2 separate regions of the Homo sapiens genome follow, and region 1 is linked to region 2. The links are contacts of gene promoters, found by promoter capture Hi-C in blood cells and fetal thymus (Javierre and others, 2016). All regions are on one chromosome and are shown on one strand. The core of a region is centred on a gene start or on the middle of the fragment in contact, and the rest is flanking DNA. Distances in the headings are between cores, read along the strand shown.

Region 1 (3,029 bases), core at 42-2,541, 630 kb after region 2:
GGTTCAGAAAAAAGAGGGATTCCAGAGGAATGCACAATCACTGGTAACTCAGGGGCTTTGATGCAGTCCCAGGCATAGAAAGTTCCTCCTCCTCAGGGTTTGACCATCACATGTCTGCCCGCACCCAGAGCCATCTTCCTCCATCCCTCCTACAGGTCAGGAAGAAAACTGGGTCCTCACCCACTAAACACGTATCGTTGACAGTAATTCCAACAGTGGGAACATCCGTGGCAAAATGTCACTGGGACACTTATTTGGTTTTCTGGGAAGGGAAGAAGAGGAAAAACAAAAAGAACTTGAATTAGTCATTAGCTTTGCATCAGGCATTGAACAGACATGGTATCTCCTTCCATCCCTTGCAGTTCTGAAAGGATGATTATATGTATTCTATCGTATCATTATATATCATGGTTTTTTAGCCACTGGTGTCATTGACAATGCCAGTAACTAAGCCAACCTGTTTGACCAACAACAAATTTGGATGTTTCTGACTTTTTTTTTTAATAGACTTTTGCTGCTACTGTTAACTGCTCAAGGCATTCTAATAGGCACTTAGACCATACCTATGATTAGGAGCTCTTTGCAATTTGCTATTGAGCCCCTAAACAGCAGGCAGACATCAAACGGTCTCTAACATGATTTGAATACCACTGGATTCTTTTGTCCTCTTCTGATTCCCTACCATAATCCTGTACACTCAACCAATAACAATCTTTTGAAGTTTATAACTTTCTTAACTTCAAAGTTTTCTCGATGCCTAAGTAACAGGAGGTTTTCAAGGTGGAAATGCTAAATGAGTATACCATGCACAGTATAAATAACACACATCCAAGGGCATCCAAGACTTCAAAACCATTTGTATTAAGCTAGACAGCAGCTGTGAGAATCTACCCTTGTATGATGTCCTATTATAAATATCAGATTAGAGGAAACTTGGGGAGTGAGGCCTTGTTCATTCATATTGGGTTTTATTAATTTCCCCGCCCCCCCCCCCAAGTACATTCAACATGAGAGCATCTTAACATACCCCAGGGGCATTCCTGTGCATTCATGCAACTGTTCTCATCAAAGGAAAAAAAATACTTCACCCCATTATTTTATGTGGCTTCCAAGAGAGTTTCAACCCTTAAAAATTTATAAGTCCTTTTCATTAGGCCACTATTGTTTGATAGAATCTTAACCTCCTTCTGACACCTTGCTTCCCTAAGTAAAAATGTAATAACAACACTTACAACAATAACAACAACACAATGACAATAATAGTAATGGCAAACACCAGGTGGTCTGCACTTTCTATAGGCTGTGTGCCTCATCTGCATTCTGTCAATGAATCTTTTTTTTTTTTTTTTTGACAGTCTTGCTCTGTCACCCAGGCTGGAGAGCAGTGGTGCAATCTCTGCTCACTGAAACCTCCACCTCCCAAGTTCAAGCGATTCTTATGCTTCAGCCTCCAGAGTAGCTGGGTTACAGGCACGTTCCACCAAGCCTGGCGAATCTTTGTATATTAGTAGAGATGAGATTTCACCCGTGTTGACCAGGCTGGTTTCAAACCCCTGGACTCAAGTGATCCACCTGCCATGGCCTCCCAAAGTACTGGGATTACAGGCATGAGCCACCAAGCCTGGCTGATTTTTGAATATTAGTAGAGATGAGATTTCACCACGTTGACCAGGCTGGTCTCAAACCCCTGGCTTCAAGTGATCCACCCGCCTTGACCTCCCAAAGTGCTGGGATTACAGGCATGAGCCACGATGCCTGGCAATTCTGTCAATTAATCTTTATCAGAGTCCCATTTTAAAGATGTGCAAACTGAGGCTGGGAGAGGTTTAGGCAACTGGCCTAAAATAATGATAAGTAACACATGGATCCAGGACTTGACTACAGCAAAGCCAATATTTTTCTTCTTCTCTTTAAATTGTCTCCCTTTCTTGTTTTTCTATAACCCAGATAAAACATTCCTCAATTGATTGATCCTAGATAATTATATATGCATATGTTTTACTTCTCCAGTGTTTTAATGTCTAAGATCGTCTACAAGTTCTATACATCAGTAATTACTGTATTTCATGAAATGGGAAGTAGCAATTTTTTCGTTTGGCAGCTTGTAAACTCAGTCAGACAGAATCAAATCACTTCCCTGAAGCTCACCACAGGAAGGTAGCCTCATTACCTAAAAAACAGAACAAAAAAGAAAAAGAAAAAGAAAAAAAGGCTCCCTTCTTCATGAGCCTTCCACGAATGCATTCTGCATCTTTATTGCTGCTTTCATTGCTTGGCTCTCGTTAGACTTTTCCCCCAGATGTTCTTAATTTGGGGGTTATTTTCCATTGCATGTGGGCCCTTCAGTACTGTAAATATTTGACTTCAATATTTTCCATAGCTTGAAGAACTTTACAGTGGTCACTTCAGACATGGTTACAGAATGTTCTCTGATCCTTTCAGGCTGCTCTGTAAATTAGAAACTTGGTAGTTGATATCTTGTGGGCTCCACACACCATTTTTTTTTTCTCAGACTTTGATGTCTAAAAGTGCATTGTGTTATTTAGGCCTTAGGCACGTATAGAGATATCCCTGAAGCATAGATCAGGGTGGCTCATATGAATGAATTTTTTCCAATTAATTTATCCTCTATGGTGGGATCTCACATTAAAAATCATATTGTAGGTTTTTTTCTTTTTCTTTTTTTTTTTTTTTTTGAGATGGAGTCTCACTCTGTCGCCCAGGCTGGAGAGCAGTGGCGTGATCTCGGCTCACTGCAACCTCCACCTCCCAGGTTCAAGTAATTCTCTGCCTCAGCCTCCCGAGTAGCTGGGATTACAGGTGCCCACTACCATGCCCGGCTAATTTTTGTATTTTTTAGTAGAGACGAGGTTTCACCATCTTGGCCAGGCTGGTCTTGAACTCCTGACCTTGTGATCCACCCACCTCTCAAAGTGCTGGGATTATAGGCGTGAGCCACTGCATCCAGCCATATTTTAGATTTTTAAAAGATCTCTGCCAGTGGTCTTCAGTGGTACCATCTTCATTCA
Region 2 (3,177 bases), core at 395-2,894:
TGCCGTCCGTCACCCCTTTCTTTGACTCAGAAAGGGAACTCCCTGACCCCTTGCGCTTCCCGAGTGAGGCAATGCCTCGCCCTGCTTCGGCTCGCGACCGGTGCGCGCACCCACTGACCTGTGCCCACTGTCTGGCACTCCCTAGTGAGATGAACCCGGTACCTCAGATGGAAATGCAGAAATCACCCGTCTTCTGCGTCGCTCACACTGGGAGCTGTAGGCCGGAGCTGTTCCTATTCGGCCATCTTGGCTCCTCTGCCTGTCATTTTTGTCTTGAGATATTTTCTAATTTCCCTGCGAATTTTTTTCTTTGACTCAATGGTTATTCAAGAGTGTGTTGTTTAATTTCCGCATATTTGTGAATTTTTCTGTATTCTTTTTGTTATTGATTTCTAGTTTCATTTCATTGCAGCTGGAAGTTACTTGGAATGTTTTCAATATTCTTATATTTATTAAGACTTGTTTTGTGACTTAGCATGTGATATATCCTGGAGAATGTTCCATGCATACTCGAGAAGAATGTGTATTCTGGTGCTGTTGGGTACAATAACTGTTAGGACTATCTGGTCCCTAGTATTATTCAAGTCTGCTGTTTCCTTATTGATTTTCTGTCTGGATGATACATTCATTACTGAGAGTGGGATAGTGAGTTCTCCTACTATTATTGTATTGCTGTCTATTTCTCCCTTCAGATATGTTAATATTTACTTCATATATTTAGGTGCTTTGATTAAAGGTGTATATATAATTGTTATATCTTCCTATTGAATTGACCCTTTTATCATTAGTTAATGATCTTTTTGGTTTCTTGTGATAGTTTTTGATTTGACGTCTATTTTGTCTAAGTATAGCCATTTCTTCTCTCTTTTGCTTATTATTTGCATGAGATATCTTTTTTCCATCCCTTCACTTTCAGCCTATGTGTCCCTAAATCTGAAATGAATCACATGTATATAGCATATAGTTGGATTTTTAAAATCCATTCAGTGACTCTGTATCTTTTGATTGGTGAGTTTAATCCATATACATCTGAAGTATTTTTTGAAAGGTAAGGACTTACTTTTGCCATTTTGTTAGGTTATTTCTATTTTGAGGTTCTTTTGTTCTTCTCTGAAGTTACAAGTTGCTGTGTAACTTAACGATGTTTTGTAGTGATATACTTTGATTCTTTTCTGGTTCTGGGATCCAAAGACAGGCCCAACGCTGATTTTTGTGGGTGGGCCCACAAAAATAAAGCAGCACAATGGTTGCAGTAAATGACTTGCTATTACTACACCACAAAAGTGGAGAAAGCTGCCATAGAAGCAAGGTGCACCCAGGGTTTGTGGGAGGCCCATGGTTCTGGGGTCCAAAGACAGGCCCAGTGCTGATTTTTGTGGGTGGGCCTGGTGTCAGGGTTTGTGGGAGGCCCATGGTACTGGGTTTCACTGGCCTGGTGCTGAGCTCCATGGTGAAGTCAGATGTTCACTTCTCTGTCCCTTTCTTCCAAGATAAAACTCATGGGTCTAGGAGATCTCTCTTGGCACTAGGCTGTGTGGGCTTTGGGGTGACATGGGTAAAGTGAAACTTTCATTCTTACTCTCTTCAGTGCATCTTTTTTTTTATGATTCTGTGCTCCACCCAGGTGCTGCAGCCTCTCACCTGAATCCCAGAGCTCTTGTGAAGTTACTTTCATCTATGGATGGTTATTAAATTGGTGTTTTCAGCTTACAGTGAAAGATCTTCAGAACACCAATTCAGTTGCCTTCAGGGTTAAACCATAATATCAACACAAAATGGATCAAGAGCCAGTCATCCTAAAAAGACCACATGCATGGCCCCTGATCTAGCAAAAGTAGTCACAAATGCAGCTGAATGTGTGGAAACCTCTAAGAGAAAATGTGTGAATCACAGAAAGAGTGGCTCCAGTCATGGAACGTGGAGAAAGCTGCCACAGAAGCAAAGGCTGCCTATGCTCATGCCAGCACTGACAGGGAGAACTCTCCGCCCTCTACCTTGGGTATTCTGGCTCCAATGACAGGGCTGTCTCTGGAATGAAGGTAGAAGCAGGGGCCAAACTAAATGAACTTCAAATACCCTGATCTAACTAGCTACTCTAAACCACTGTGAGATGGATTGGTGGCAACTTACACTTCCAATTCATCCAATTCCTTTCCCTATGATTCCCTCACTCACAAAAACCTGCTCATTACCATTGGCCTCCCTTATAGATCTATGTACAGGAACAGTTGGGGGCTGTTTGGGGAATGTGCTTTGGCTCTTTTGATAGTTCCCATTCTATCAGTGGGGCTTGGGTAATATGAATCTGCAACTGACCGGGGCTGGGGAGATGTTACTCTCAGATGGTTGGGTTTATCCTATTTATGAATCCACAGGCCCAAAGGTTAAATGGTGGACCAATTAAATTTACCAAAGGCAGGCATGTTTCCCCGTGAGGTGTCCTGGCAACAGGCGGCCCTCCTGGACATGCCACAGCATGTCAGGGGCTGCTTTTCATGACTGAATCCGCTCCACCGCACCCCTCTGCAGGCTCCTTCCCCACTCACCTTGTCCTTTTTCTTTCCTGCTTTCACTGGGCGCTCCCTTTCTCTGTCCACAGCTAGCTTTAAGTTTTTAAGTTCCTGTCTCATCAACTCATCAACCTAGGAGAATACAAAACATACTACTTTTAAGTCACTTTGCATGTCTTGTGTTTTGTTTGTGAAGTTTAAAAATCCCTTAAATTATGGGGTAGGTCATTAGTAGGAAATTGTAAAGAAGCACAATGGTTGAAGTAAATGATTTGCTGTTACTACACCATAAACGTAGCTGTACCTGTATCCTGATCTCTGACTGTAATTCTTTTCGTTTCTCCTCTTTGATCAGTTCTGGATCATAGTCCTGAGAGAAATTCCAAGACTCATCTTTTTTCATCCAGATTTCTACACTCCAGAAGGGTAAAGAAAAAGAAAAAGAAAAAATTTTAAAAAGATATAGGTTAATGAAATTTTAAAAAGACGTAGGTTAATTGTAAGTTATTGCAATATAAACATAAGCCTAACTTTATATGTTATTGCATAGGATAAAAGTTTGAATAAAATAAGCTGGACAGATGAGATTCATATATGTGCTTGTAAATGCACTAAAAAAAGAAAAAAAACTGCTGATGTAAAAATATTGAGTTTTAGTTTACTCAAT

The links. Contacts are between HindIII fragments. The CHiCAGO score rates a contact against its expected background, and 5 or more counts as called.
Region 1: a contact is called between a fragment that was not itself captured here and the fragment with the promoter of IQCA1-AS1 in region 2, in 1 of 17 cell types (naive B cells). The highest score is 6.6, in naive B cells.

Annotation. Positions count from the first base shown.
Region 1 is chr2:237,017,958-237,020,986 of GRCh38, forward strand. All of the region lies in intron 1 of COPS8-DT (COPS8 divergent transcript), which reads right to left. Among named protein-coding and RNA genes, the nearest start is that of COPS8-DT, 66 kb to the right of the region's middle. The HindIII fragment of the contact is 4,861 bases long and covers 1-3,029 here.
Region 2 is chr2:236,389,430-236,392,606 of GRCh38, forward strand. IQCA1-AS1 (IQCA1 antisense RNA 1) reads left to right here and starts at 1,645. Exons shown (of 2, transcript NR_174961.1): 1 at 1,645-2,039; 2 at 2,866-2,947. DRC11 (dynein regulatory complex subunit 11) reads right to left here. Exons shown (of 19, transcript NM_024726.5): 10 at 2,815-2,921; 11 at 2,547-2,642. RefSeq lists an enhancer at 1,965-3,164. The HindIII fragment of the contact is 7,674 bases long and covers 1-3,177 here.